Linked DNA regions of Homo sapiens: regions 1, 3 and 4 are each linked to region 2. Evidence: promoter capture Hi-C in human tissues and cell types (Jung and others, 2019). All regions are on one chromosome and are shown on one strand. Each heading gives the region's core, a stretch centred on a gene start or on the middle of the fragment in contact. The rest is flanking DNA. Distances are from core to core; before and after follow the strand shown. Region 1 has its middle 70 kb from the start of TEAD1. Region 2 holds the start of TEAD1 (TEA domain transcription factor 1). Region 3 has its middle 120 kb from the start of TEAD1. Region 4 has its middle 100 kb from the start of TEAD1.

Region 1 (3,406 bases), core at 97-2,596, 70 kb before region 2:
CCTGGCTTTCCCAATAGGGTAAAATGTTTGCAATAGGACTTTGAGTAATTTGAATTATGTGAGACATAAGCGCATGAGAAAAACTAGCACATTTAACATGTGTTTAACACATAAGCATTACTATTTTCATTGAGTATGAACAGAACAAGCTTCATTATTGCCATTTTAAATAGAGGGGGAGATTGAACCTCCAAGTTTGAAGAACATGCCCTAAGTCACACAGCTAGTAAGTGGCTCTGGCGCAAAAGGAAGTCTGTCTGAATATAAAGTTTATTCTTTCTCTTTTAACTACACCAGTTGGCAATGGGGAATATGAGGTGAGAGTAGGACCTTGGCTATCCCCAAATTTCCCTCCTGTAAATTTAGAACTAACAGACTCTATCTAAAGAATGAAGAAAGTTTCTAATCAGATTTTATGTCCTCTGCACATCCCATAGATAATGTTGTTTTGAAATAGCCAAGGTACTAACCATCTCTGAGCAGAAATGGACATCCCATCATCTGGAATGTGTCCCAAGTGGGCCTTATGAAAATTTTTAAGTCCCTGACAAGAGGAAGCTGACTACTCAAAATAGCTTGATTATTTTTCCACTCTCCCAAATCAAGAGGAGTGATTTCCTTGAAAATATAAGGATTTCAGAACTTTCAGAAGTGCTTCAAGTAAAACAAGATATAAGAATGTGCCTTATGAAGAATACGCCCATAATTTCCTCCCATTCAAATCCTCTTGGGAAAATACATTCACCTCAGTGCCAAAGTGGCAACTCTATAACATGTGACCAAGTCCCCTGATCACAGCTGATTGGGCCTGAGATGAACACAGGAAATTGAGGTAGTCATATTCTATTACCAGGTGGAGATGATTTGAACTCAGGGAACAACTCAAGGAAGTGGTAAAGCATTGGTCTAAACATTGAAGAAATAAAAGTCATAAAACTGAACAGTGAGACTTCCCAGGACGTTGGCAGCTAGGAGTATAACCCTGCTCAAGAGAAAAGACACACATATACTGACATTTTGATGACCCCTCCAGCCTAAGGAAACAGCAAGGTTAGCCCTGATCAGTGAAGTCCACTAACATCTTTTCTCCCCTCCCCCACCCCGCTTGATCTCTCTCTCTCACACACACACCTCTCCAATCAGCATGTAGTCCCTGTTTTTAAAACATTAAAAAGACACACACACACACAAGGCTTACCATACATTTGAGGAAAGCCTTTTACCATAACAGACAAATAAAATTTAAAAACCAGAGGAAAAAAGGGGGAGAAGAGAGAGAGAGACATGGACAAATTAGAAAAAATTAATTTCCTGAATTTTAAAAATTATGGCCAGGTGCACTGGCTCACACCTGCAATCCCAGCACTTTGGGAGGCTGAGGCAGGCGGATCATGAGGTCAAGAGATCGAGACTATCCTGGCCAACATGATGAAACCCCGTCTCTACTAAAAATAAAAAAATTAGCCAGGCGTGGTGGCTTGCGCCTGTAGTCCCAGCTACTCAGGAGGCTGAGGCAGGAGAACTGCTTGAACCCAGGAGGCAAAGTCTGCAGTGAGCCGAGATCGTGCCACTGCACTCCAGCCTGGCGACAGAGCGAGACTCCATCTCAGGGAAAAAATAAAATTATAATACACTCAAGGAAATGGCAAATGAGGTTATTAATGTGGGACTAGATAAGAGAACCATTCTTCTATTGGAAACATCTATAAAAACTGCATTTTAAAAAAGTTTAAAACTGCCTAGAGTACTGAAGGGCCCAAAAGATAGTGAAGAACTGGTGGACCAAGATGCATAAGATGACAGAGCTAACATGGAATTAGGAGCTTCTTTTAGAGACACTTATCAATTCTAGAAAAAGTATCTGAGTTGTTTAGCAGCCTTTGATAAGCTTGCAGGCCTGGGGACCAACAGGAGATATCCAAGGCCTGCCAAGGAATAGAAGGTGATAAACTTGCTATGTTTGGGTTAGGATCCTAAAGGGCTATAACTTAGAAGTAAAGGCAAATCAGAAGGTGACTCACTTGTAGGAAATGCAGCCATGTTTTAAATTATCTCACTTGCTGAAATTACATTAAGTTTATCCCAAACTGGTAGTGGATCCAGAAACTTCACAGAAGCAAAGTAAAATCCTTTCCAGAGGAGGAACATAACTTCCAAGTCCTCACATGATTTCTAAAATAATTTTCACATATAAGATCTGGCACACAATCTTAAAATAACTTGGCATACCGTAAGGCAAGGCAACAGAAAAGACACCCAGCAGAAATAACAGACAATAGACACAAACTCACAGAGATCCAAAGATTGCATAATTAAACAGTCTTTAACATAATTTGTGTCAATATGATAAAAGATAAGATGTACAGTTTCAGTAAAGACCTAAAAATAGGTACTTTTAAAACTCATAAAAGGACTTCTGCCATTTATGAGAAACTATCTTATATCAGAACAATACTTTGCCATAAACAACTAGAAAAAGTGGGTTTAAATGTCTTTTGGGAGACAAAGAAGAGCTCCCAACTTGGCCAGGAGATGAAGGGATGTGAGCCCAGAGATGGGAATCTCATAATTGGGCATGGATTTTTCCTTTGAAGCATTTGCTTCAAAAATGAAAAAGAACAATTTGAAAGCAGGGTAGAGAAAGAGAATATATTATCCGTACAAAAAAGCCCCACAACAATCACAGCTAACTTCTCAACAGAAGCTCTAAAAGCAAGAAATCAATGGGATGACTTGTTTAAAGTGCCAAAGGACATTAAATGTTCATAGAAATAGAAACAAAATTCTTAGGCTGGGTGCAGTGGCTTGCACCTGTAATCCCAGCAATTTGGGAGGCTGAGGCAAAAGGATTGCTTGAGGTTAAGAGTTCAAGAAACAGAATTCCTTATAGCAAAATAATATAAATCAATAGAATTGAAAACAAAAAAAGGAGAAAAAAGTAATGAAATCTAAAGCTAGTTAGTTGAAAAGATCAATATAATTGATAAATCTCCAGCCAGACTGATGAAGAAAAAAAAATTTTAAAGATACACATTACCAACAATAAGAATGCAGAGGCAGGGAAGATATGGACATCACCACAGATTCTACAGACATAACAGGATAATAAAGGAATACTATGATCAACTTTATGCCAATATGCTTGATAACATAGATAAAATAAATTCCTGAAAATTGTGAACTATCATAGCTCACTCAAGAAGAAACAGATAACATGAATAGTCCTATATCTATTACATAAATTGAATGTGTTGTTTAAAACACTCCCTCAATGAAAACTCTGGGCCCTGATGGCATTACTGGTAAATAATATCAAGCATTTTAAGAAGAAATAATATCAATTCTATTCAAAATCTTCCAGAATATGGAAGAGAAACACTTACCAACATATTTTGTAAAGCCAGAA
Region 2 (3,409 bases), core at 280-2,779:
TAAGACTGGGTGCAGTGGCTCACTTTTGTAATTCCAGCACTTCAGGAAGCCGAGGCAGGAGGACAGCTTGAGCCCGGGCGTCTGAGACCAGCCTGGGCAGCATGGTGAAACTGCATCTCTACAAAAAAATTTTAGAAATTAGCTAGGCGTGGTGGTGCGTGCCTGTAGTTCCAGCTATTCGGGAGGCTGAAAAGGGAGGATGGCTTGATTCCAGGGAGTCGAGGCTGCAGCGAGCCCAGATCGCACCATTGCATTCTAGCCTAGGTGACAGAGCAAGATCCTGTCTCCAAAAATAAAATAAAAAAAAAATTAAAAAAAAGGAAAACAATGTATTAGTAAAAGTTATGTTTTGTAGAAATGTGTTGCACTCAGTCACAGTCTAGTCTCCTCAGTTACCCATATATAGGGATATAGGGATTCCTCGGGCACAAAATATGTTGTTATTTAATCCTGAGGCCTCAGCTGGAAAAGAGAGCCAAGTGCCTAGAACGAATGAGGTCCACTGTGCGGGAACTGCTTTGCAGTTTGTTAAATAATTATAACAATCACCCGAAACTTTAGACGGTTCTGTCCCCAGTGGGTCGATTTTACCCGTTTTCTGATTTACCGACTGCGTCTATGTCACTTTTGCGTCACTACCTCCAATGGCAGGGTTAAAATGATTCCTTTAATAATGAAATGAAGTTTCTCAATAATGAAAGGGCTAACTTAAAGTCGCCGGATGCAGCATTTCAAAGTTTAGGAAGTTACTTTTGAAAAGTACAACCGGCAGAGATGAGTGAACTTAGTTTTTTAACTGACTTGGAGAAGACCTTGCTAGCAGGGCAGGTTTATTACGAACTCTGTAATTATCCTTCTTTGCTAAGCTAAAGGTTTTCCTTTCCCAACCGTAAGACAGATTTCGACTTGAGTGAGAGCTGTGAACTTTTATAAAAGTGAAAGGGAAGAGAAGAAATGGCAGGCTGGGAATCTGGCCCGGAGACGGCGTCCACCGCGCTCGAGAGCAACAATCTGCATCACCAGAAAGGCAACTTCTCTACCCTACACTTGCAGACTTCCGCGAGTCCGGGAGCACTCAACGCAGTCACCCGCGCTTCCGCGTCCCGGACTAGGGAAACTGAGGCACGGTAGGCGCGTCGCGCGCAACTCCCGCCTCGGCGCCTGCCCCCTGGAAGAAACCCAGGCTTCCAGAGTTCTTCGCGCGAGCGCAGGGACTTCCAAGCCGCGCAGCTCCCGTCCGCCCCGCCCCGCCCCGCCCCGGCTCGGGACAAAGCCCGGAGCCCGCGCCGGGAGACGGAGGGCGGCTCCCGCGCGAGCCACGCTCCCCCGTGGGCGCGAGACTCCGCCCAGCTGCCGAAAGCCCGCGCCCCAACGGCGAAGCAGCCGCGCCGGTCCGCCCCGATTCCCCATGACGTCACCGGCGGCGGCAGGCCCCGCCTCCAGCCCCGGGCGGCAGGCCGCATGACGTCACCGAGGCCCCACCCCTCCGGAGCGAGTTCGGTCCTGGCGTTCATTTCATTCCTGTCCTCATTCCGAACATTCTTAGCATCGCTCGCGCCGCGCCGCGCCGCCTGAGCCGAGCCGAGCCTCTGCTGCCGCCGCCGCGGCCCCGCCGCCCGCCGCGGGCGCCCACCAAGCACTTTGCAGACTCGCTTCCACCCTGCGGGCCATTCCGCGCGGCGGGGCCCGGGCCCGGGGCGGCCGCGTCCAGGCACAGGCCATGCAGTGACGCCCCCCCACCCCTCCACCTTTGCCCGGAGCGCGGGCAGCAGCCCAGCGCGCCAGCCGGCCCCGGGGCAGGAGCGGTGCTAGGCAGGGGTGGGGTGGCCGGGCCCAGGGACCGGGAGCCGGGGAGGGAGCCGGGCACCGAGCAGAGGGCGGGGGAAGCGGCGCCGAAGTTTGCCTCGGACTCGCCGGGCGCTGCGGTGGCTCCCTGGGCCGAGGTAAGTTGGCGCGCGGGGCGGATGCTGGGGTGCGGGGGGCGCACGGGGCAGCGGGGGGCCGGCGGCGCGTCCCTCGCGGGCCGCTCTTTCTTTGCGGGCTCTGCTTTGTGTGCGACGGCGGGCGGGCACGCGGAGGGCCGCGGCCGGGCCCCCACACCCGCCTCCCCGCGCCCCCTCCGAGGTGAGCGGCCGGGCGCCGCCGCGCGACTTGCCAGGACGCCAAGTTGGGCCGCGCGCTGGGAGCCCGCGCGGCAACAGGCGGCCCCCGGCCGGCCGCGCCGCGCCCCCCGCGCGCCCCCTCTCCCGCCGCCTGCACGCGCACACACGCACACACCCTCGGGCGCCTTGGACGGGGTGCGCTGGGGAGCCAGAAGTTCGGAGCGAGCGCGGGCGGGCAGAGCCGCCGCCTCGGAGCCCGGAGCCGGCCTGCACCCCCCTGCTTTCGCCGCCGCCCCCCGGCGCCGGGTACCCCCGAGGCCGGCCCGGGTCTGCGCAGACTTGTGCCGCTGGCGGGGGGTTCGCTCCTTCTTCTCAAAGATGAAAAAGGGCACGGTCGTCTTTGCCGCTTCTCCAGGACTGTTGCTGCCGCTGCCGCCGCCGCTTCATTGCACATTCAAGTGGAAAATTTTCAGGAGTCAGCAGAAACATTGTGTCCAAAAAAGACTGAGTCGCAGTTACCACCAAACCCAGGAGGAGACTCTCCCTGGAAAACTTCCCTTCCCTTTCGGTAGGAAATACTGGGGGATTTGTTTGTTGATTGGAAGAGAAATGATCCCCGGGGGGGAGAAAATCTGGGTACACTTCTAGTCTTTGTTCGTAACAGCAACACTTGTTTTCAAAAGTCCAGAGTCCCGCTTTAAAGAAAGTTTAACTTCTGTGACTTTTCTTCTTTTTAAAAAAATAACTTTTGTATTTTTAAAAAATCAAAGCAATATTTTTAATGAGTCGAAAACAATGAGGACTCACACCTCCCCTCTCATGAAAATAAATGAAATCCAGATCAGAATTTTCTTTGCTTTTAAATTGCCTTTTTTAAAAGATTTATTTAAAGTTGGATAGTGTCACTATATAAAAATATTTATGAAACAATGAAATACCAGCCACCAGCGTTTCTCAGGAGGCTTGTTAACTTCTTAGAAGCAAGTGGCTTCCTGTGATTTGCAGAAATGAAAATTGACCTCAGTGAGCCCTGGAAACTTAGAGACAGATGATGTTCCAGGAGCAGGGAATGTAAAAAGGCCATGTTTAAAAACAGTGCGTTGGAAGGAGCCCAGGTCTTGGGATAGAAAGGTCTGTTAAGCCTGCCACATTTCAAAATAGTAAAAAGAAATACTAAAAACACTACACGTATTGCAAAGGAGCAGAACCTTATCAGTTCACAACAACCACAGATTTCTTTCTCCCCGCTTTCCACCTTGGTTGTTTTTGGAAGTTCAGGTGGTCTGATGGCTTGGGGTGCGCTGGTT
Region 3 (3,250 bases), core at 398-2,897, 120 kb before region 2:
AAAGAAAGATTTGTCTATGTATTATACGTCCTGGAGGGGTTTCATGGCAGTTCTGTCTGGACTAAAATGTCACCATTCTGTATTATTATTACATAGATTCTGCATTTTTTTCTTTTTTTCTTTCTTTTTTTTTTTTTTTTTTGGTAGAGACAGGGTCTCAGTATGTACCCAAGCTGGTCTTGAACTCCTGACCTCAAGTGATCCTCCTGCCTTCGACTCTCAAAGTGCTGGGATCATAGGAATGAGCCACTGTGCCTGGCTCACTTTTCAAATAAGTAGCATTTGAGGGTGGTATCAATATTCCAGGAATAGAATAATGAGATGTTTTTTGAGAAAACATTCAGAATGTATCCAATCAGATCAGCATTTTCTGCTTCAAGCAGTCACCCAATTCCAGTGACATTGCCAGGAGCTGCCTTAAGAAGCCTGTTGTATTTCTTTAGTTTGCCATTCTTTGACTAGAAGTAGTCAAAGCTAAGCACAAGAATGGGCTTTGCTTTATTGTTGTCATGGTGAAAGATTAGAAAAAACTTAAATGTTTATTGATAGGGAAGTGGCTAAATCAATTATGACACATTCAGTCAATGGACTACCACATAATCATTTAAAAAGTATGAGGCAGTTAAGAATGATCAACTACCCAAAGTGATTTATAGATTCAAAGCAGTCCTTATCAAAATTCCAATGGTGTTGTTTACAGAAATAGAAAAAAAAAAACAATACTCACATAGAACCACAAAAGACCCCAAATAACCAAAGTAATCTTAAGAAAGAAGAATAAAATCAGAAGCATCATACTTCCTGATTTTAAACTGTATAACAAAGCTATAGTAATCAAAACAGTGTGGTTCTGGCATAAAAGCAGACACAGACTAATGGAACAGAATAGAGAGACTAGAAACGCATGCATATATGGTCAACTATTATTTGATGAGGGCACCAAGATTACAAAATAGGGAAAGGAAAGTCTCCTCCATAAATAAAGTTAGGAAAGCTAGATATTGATATGCAAAAAAAGAGAAAGAAATAGAATCTTTATCTTACACCAGCACAAAAATTAACTCAAAATGGATTAAAGACTTAAATATAAGACCTGAAATCATAAAACTCCTAGAAAAAATAAAAAAGAACAGAGAAAAAGCTTCTTGACACTGGCCTTAGTAACGATATTTTTACGTATGACACCAAAAGTAAAGGCAACAAAAGCAAAAACAAATAAGTGGGACTACATCAAACAAAAAAATTTCTGCACAGCAAAGGAAACAACAAAATGAAAAGGCAACCTATGGAATGAGCAAAAAATATTTTCAAGTCATATATCTGATAAGGGGTAAATACCTAAAATATACAAGATATTCATGCAACTCAATAGCAAAGAAATCCCAAATAATCTCTTCTAAAAAGTGTTACAAAGAACTTGAATTGATACTTTTCCAAAGGAGACATACAAATGGCTAACAGGTACATGAAAAAGTACTCAGTATCACTAATCATCAGGGACATGCAAGTCAAAACTACAGTGAGATGTCACCTCACACCTGTTAGGATGGCTATTATCAAAAAGATGAAGTAAGTGTTGTTGAGGATGTGGAGGAAGAGGAATCCTTGTATACAGTGGGAGGGAATGTAAATTAGTACAGCCATTATGGAAAACAATATGGAGGTTCCTCAAAAAACTAAAACTAGAACTACCATGTGATCCAGCAATTCCACTTCTGGGTATATATCTGAACGAAGTTAGATCAGTGTCTCTCTGCACTCCTATGTTCGTTGCAGCATTATTCAAATTGCCAAGACATGGAAACAAATGGATAAAGAAAAAGTGGTATATATAGACAATGAAATATTATCCGGCCATAAAGAAGAAAAAAATTCTGCCATTCCTGACAGTGTGGATTAACCTGGAGGGCATTATGTTAAGTGAAATAAGCCAGAAACAGAAAGGCAAATATTGTATGATTCCACTTATATGTGAAATCTGAAAAGGTCAAACTCATACAAACAGAGTAGAAGGATGGTTGCCAAAGGCTGGGGGGGTGGGGGAAATGGGGAGATGTTGGTCAAAGAGTACAAACTTTCAGTTATAAGACGAATACATTGTGGAGGTGTAACATACAACATGGTGACTACAGTTTATACTATTGTATTGTACACTTGAAATTTGCAAGTAGAGTAGTCCATAAGTGTTCTTACCACATACGCACAAATGGTAACTATGTGAGATGATGATGCATTAACTAACTTGATTCTGGTAATCATTTTACAATATATACGTATGTCAAATCATCACATTGTTCCCTTTAAATATATACAACATTATTTGTCAATTATACCTCAATTCGCTGAAAAAAGAAAAAAAAGAATGAGCACTAAGTGTTGCTATGGACCGATCTCTGAGAAATACAGTTAAATCTGGAAATATACAAGAACTTGCTTGTATTCTTTCTAGTGAGGAGAACTAATGGCAAGGAGTAAGGACAGGGAGAAGATATTCTTGTCATCATCTAATTTTTGTATACTTTGAATTTGGTACCTTGTGCATATTTCTCATGCACAGGATGATTAATTTTTCGAAGAGTAAGAGTCTATCTAGTCCAAAAAAAAGACAGTTGAACTAGCTATGTAATTCAAACAATTAAAATCATAAGTGCTCTCATTTTCTGAGCAATTACTCTATATCAGCTTCTGTGCTAAGGCTGCTTACTACATATTTTCCTCTGATTTTCTCCTCAAAGACATCCCATCAAGTAGATTTTACCGTCTTCCTTTTAGAAATGGGGCACTGTGACTCAAAGAGTTTAGGAAAGTTGCCTGAGATTACACAATCTGCACGAGGCTAAACCAGGATTCAAATCCAGGTCAGACTAACTTTTTCCACTGGCCCCTGGGGGCTTCGCATGGTCAAACATTCAATAAGACTGTGCCTCCCCCATTACTCTATCCCCAGAGCTTTACAGAGTGCTTGGCACACAGGAGGTGTCCCATATGTGCTGACTGAATGATAAACAAAAAGCAAAACAGAGCAAGAGTGTAGTAATTTCCTTAAAGGAATTTTACACAGGTTGGAGCATCTTGGAATTGCAGGGTCACAGCCCACTGAGATTACTTGGAAGGCAACAACCTGAATTTGAGTAGCTACAGTTTGGTGTGATTGCTTAAAAAAAACTACTCACATTGTTTTGAATCACACCTCACAAAGCCTCATTGCTTCAAAATGCCTTTCTGGTGGAAGATGATTTCAAACAAACCA
Region 4 (3,445 bases), core at 381-2,880, 100 kb before region 2:
AGGAATCCGAAAATCAGAATAAATATGGGAACTAACTCTGAAATTCCTAGAGAATAGGGAAGAAATGCTTGTTTCAATAATGTAAGGATTTGGGTTCTACACCCATGTGAGACAGAAAAGTCCCATGTGATACTGGGAGCTGGAACTGAGATATCTACCCAAAGCTTGACATCTTCCAGGGAAGAAAAAACTATCCATCAGCATGCAAGCTATATTAGTTCATTTTCACACTGCTATAAAGAACTACCCGTGACTGGGTAATATATTTAAAAAAAAAAAAGGATTAATTGACTCCCAGTTCCACATGGCTGGAGAAGCCTCAGCAAACTTAAAATCATGGCAGAAGGTGAAGGGGAAGCAAGGCACGTCTTACATAGTGGCAAGAGAGAGAGAGCACGAAGGGGGAACTGCCTCACTTTTAAACCATCAGATCTTGTGAGAACTCACTCACTATCATGAGAATTACATAGAGGAACCACCCTCGGAATCCAATCACCTCCCACCAGGTCCCTTCCTCGACACATGGGGATCACAATTTGAGATGAGATTTGGGTGGGGACACAGAGCCAAACCATATCACAAGGATTATGGGAAAGTTTGTCAGTCTTTGCTTGGGCTCCATATTGAAAAAAGGAACTCTCAACAACTTAAAAATGTGGACCAACATCATACATTTGTTTCAACTTTGAATTTACATTCTCCATGTGATCTGAGGATACCAAAGATATCTGATGTCTAAAAACAATTATTTCAGATATGTTTGTTAGCTCGTTTTCAGTGGATTTTCATCTGTGGAAATTCTGCAAAGTTGAGAAATTAACATAATCTGGTAGAAGGAAACACAAAACTACCCTTGAGGAATATTCCATCAACACAGGCTACATAGGATTCTGACAGGAAAAAAAATGTAATCAACAGGAATCGTAGATATAGTCTGCATCCATAAAATAAGTACTTTAAAAGTACTTTTAAAGTTATTAAAGGTGAGGACTTTTATAGAGAACCCAGAAATAAATCCATACATCTACAGTGAACTCATTTTTAACAAAGGTGTCAAGAACACACATTGGAGAAAGGACACATAAATGCTGCTGGGAAAACTGGATATCCATACTCAGAAGAATGAAGCTAGATCCCTATCTCTTGCCATATACAAGAATCAAATCAAAATGAATTAAAGACTTAAATCTAAGACCTCAAACTAAGAAACTACTGAAAGAAAACATTGGAGAAACTTTTCAGGACATTGATCTGGGCCAAAGTTTCTTGTGTCACAAGCGTAGGCAACCAAAGTTTCTGTGCCTCAAGCACAGGCAACTAAAGCAAAAATGCACAAATGAGATCACATCAAGTTAGAAGGCTTCCACACAGCAAAGAAACCATCAACAAAGTGAAGAGACAACCCACAGAATGGGAGAAAACATTTGCAAACTATCCATCTGACACAGGATTAATAACCAGAATATATAAGGAGCTCAAACAACTCATAGGAAAAAAATCTAATAATCTGATTTAAAAATTGGCAAAAGGTCTGAATAGACTTTTCTCAAAAGGATACATATGAATGGCAAACAGCTATATGAAAAGGTGACTACCATTATTGATCATCAGAGAAATGCAAATTAAAACTACAATGAGATATTATCTCACCCCAATAAAAATGGCTTTTATCCAAAAGACAGGCAATAAGGAATGATGGCGAGGATGTGGAGGAAAGGGAATCCTTGTACACAGTTGGTGGGAACGTAAGTTACTACAACCACTATGGACAACAATATGGAGGTTCTTCAAAAAACTAAAAACATAACTACCATATAATCTAGCAATCCCACTGCTAGGTATATACCCAAAATAAAGGAAATCAGAATTGTGAAGAGATATTTGCACTCCCATATTTATTGCAGCACTATTCACAATAACCAAGATCTGGAATCAACCTAAGTGTCCATCAGCAGACTAAGGGATAAAGAGAACATGATACATATACACAATGGAGTGCTCTTCAGCCATAAAAAAAGAATGAAATCTTGTCGTTTGTAACAATGTGGATGGAACTGGATGATATCATGTTAAGTGAAATAAGCCAGGCACAGAAGAAAACAACTTTGCATGTTCTCACTCATTCGTGGAAGCTAAAAATTAAAACAATTGAACTCAGAAATATAGAGTAGAATGATAGTTATCAGAGGCTTGGAATGGTGATGGTGGGAGGCGGAAGTGAGTATGGTTAATGGGTACAAAAATACAGTTAGACAGAAAAAATACAATCTAGTATTTGATAACACAACAGAGTGACTATAGCCAAAAATAAAAAGAAATTAAAAAAATAAGGACTTCTACATTTGGTCAATATGGAGTAATAGAGATTGGATACTCCCTCCCATCTGAAGCAATTGAGAAAAGGACAAAACATATGAAACAATTATTTTCAGATGTTGAACATCAGGCAGTTCTGGACAATGACATCTCAGAGAGGGAAAACACAGGACATTTTAGCTTACTGCCTAGAGGGAGTTTCCAAGTCGCTGCATGAGAAGAGAGATTCCAGGCAGAGGCTAGCAGTCTCCTTGAGCTGAGGAGAAACAGCTGGAAGATAGGGAGGCTAAAGTGGCTAGACCTGACAGGACAGAGCACCAGAGAAGAGAGGGGCACATCAGGAGAGAACTCCAGAATCTTCAAAGCCTTGAGTCTTCAGCTGAGGACAGATCAGAGAATGCATGTGAGGAAACTACCCAAGGACGAGGAAAGAATCAACCAAAAAGAGTAGAAGGAAAAATCTCCAAAGCTCACACAGAGCCAAGAATAGTTTATATTCTTACCAGCCAGCATGGAAACCCTCATAATTCAAGGGCATTGAGTAAAGTACTTAAAAAGATATCATCTCATTAGTGATATCAAGATTTAGGACAAAGAAATTTGCCATGGATAAAGAGAGCTATGTAATAAGAATAATTATGATGATGATGATGATGAAGGGATCAATTCAACAAAAGGATGACGAGTTGAGAAGATGTAGCTGAGAGTCTAGAGAAGCCAAGGTGGCTAGCATTTGCAGGACAGAGTACCAGAGAAGAGAGAGTATCACAGAAAAGGAGAATCTGCAGAGGGTACCCATAGGAAGACAGCCTGTTGCACACCAAGACTGATGCCATCTTGCAGTGAAACTGCTATGATGACCCATGTTTGACCCTCACATACCAAGGTGTTCTGCAGTAAGATCTTTAAGCAATGCCTCTAGCATAGATAATCCCTCACAAAGATGCTTATCTCATCTCCCCAGTGGTTGCAAGTTTTGCAGAAAAATTTGAGGCATGACCAGCTGCACATGTCTTTACCTTAAAAACTTGCTACATAAAGGACATTTTCTGGAGGGCAGGTATGGGGAATCCACCATCTCACAGCTGCCTGAGACCACTTTTGTTTGCAAGCTCCTATTAAAAGTTTC

Evidence for each region. Contacts are between HindIII fragments. The study calls those that stand out against the background at their distance.
Region 1: a contact is called between a fragment that was not itself captured here and the fragment with the promoter of TEAD1 in region 2, in 2 of the 25 tissues and cell types used here (heart left ventricle and liver).
Region 3: a fragment that was not itself captured here is called in contact with the fragment with the promoter of TEAD1 in region 2 in 3 of the 25 tissues and cell types used here (heart left ventricle, pancreas and psoas muscle).
Region 4: a contact is called between a fragment that was not itself captured here and the fragment with the promoter of TEAD1 in region 2, in 2 of the 25 tissues and cell types used here (bladder and heart right ventricle).

Annotation. Positions count from the first base shown.
Region 1 is chr11:12,602,794-12,606,199 of GRCh38, forward strand. No RefSeq gene overlaps it. Among named protein-coding and RNA genes, the nearest start is that of TEAD1, 70 kb to the right of the region's middle. The HindIII fragment of the contact is 6,520 bases long and covers 1-3,406 here.
Region 2 is chr11:12,672,892-12,676,300 of GRCh38, forward strand. It overlaps TEAD1 (TEA domain transcription factor 1), which reads left to right and starts at 1,530. Exons shown (of 13, transcript NM_021961.6): 1 at 1,530-1,943; 2 at 2,518-2,670. RefSeq lists a silencer at 1,222-1,521 and enhancers at 2,357-3,171, 3,172-3,409. The HindIII fragment of the contact is 23,361 bases long and covers 1-3,409 here.
Region 3 is chr11:12,553,465-12,556,714 of GRCh38, forward strand. No RefSeq gene overlaps it. Among named protein-coding and RNA genes, the nearest start is that of TEAD1, 120 kb to the right of the region's middle. The HindIII fragment of the contact is 4,953 bases long and covers 1-3,250 here.
Region 4 is chr11:12,570,657-12,574,101 of GRCh38, forward strand. No RefSeq gene overlaps it. Among named protein-coding and RNA genes, the nearest start is that of TEAD1, 100 kb to the right of the region's middle. The HindIII fragment of the contact is 8,781 bases long and covers 1-3,445 here.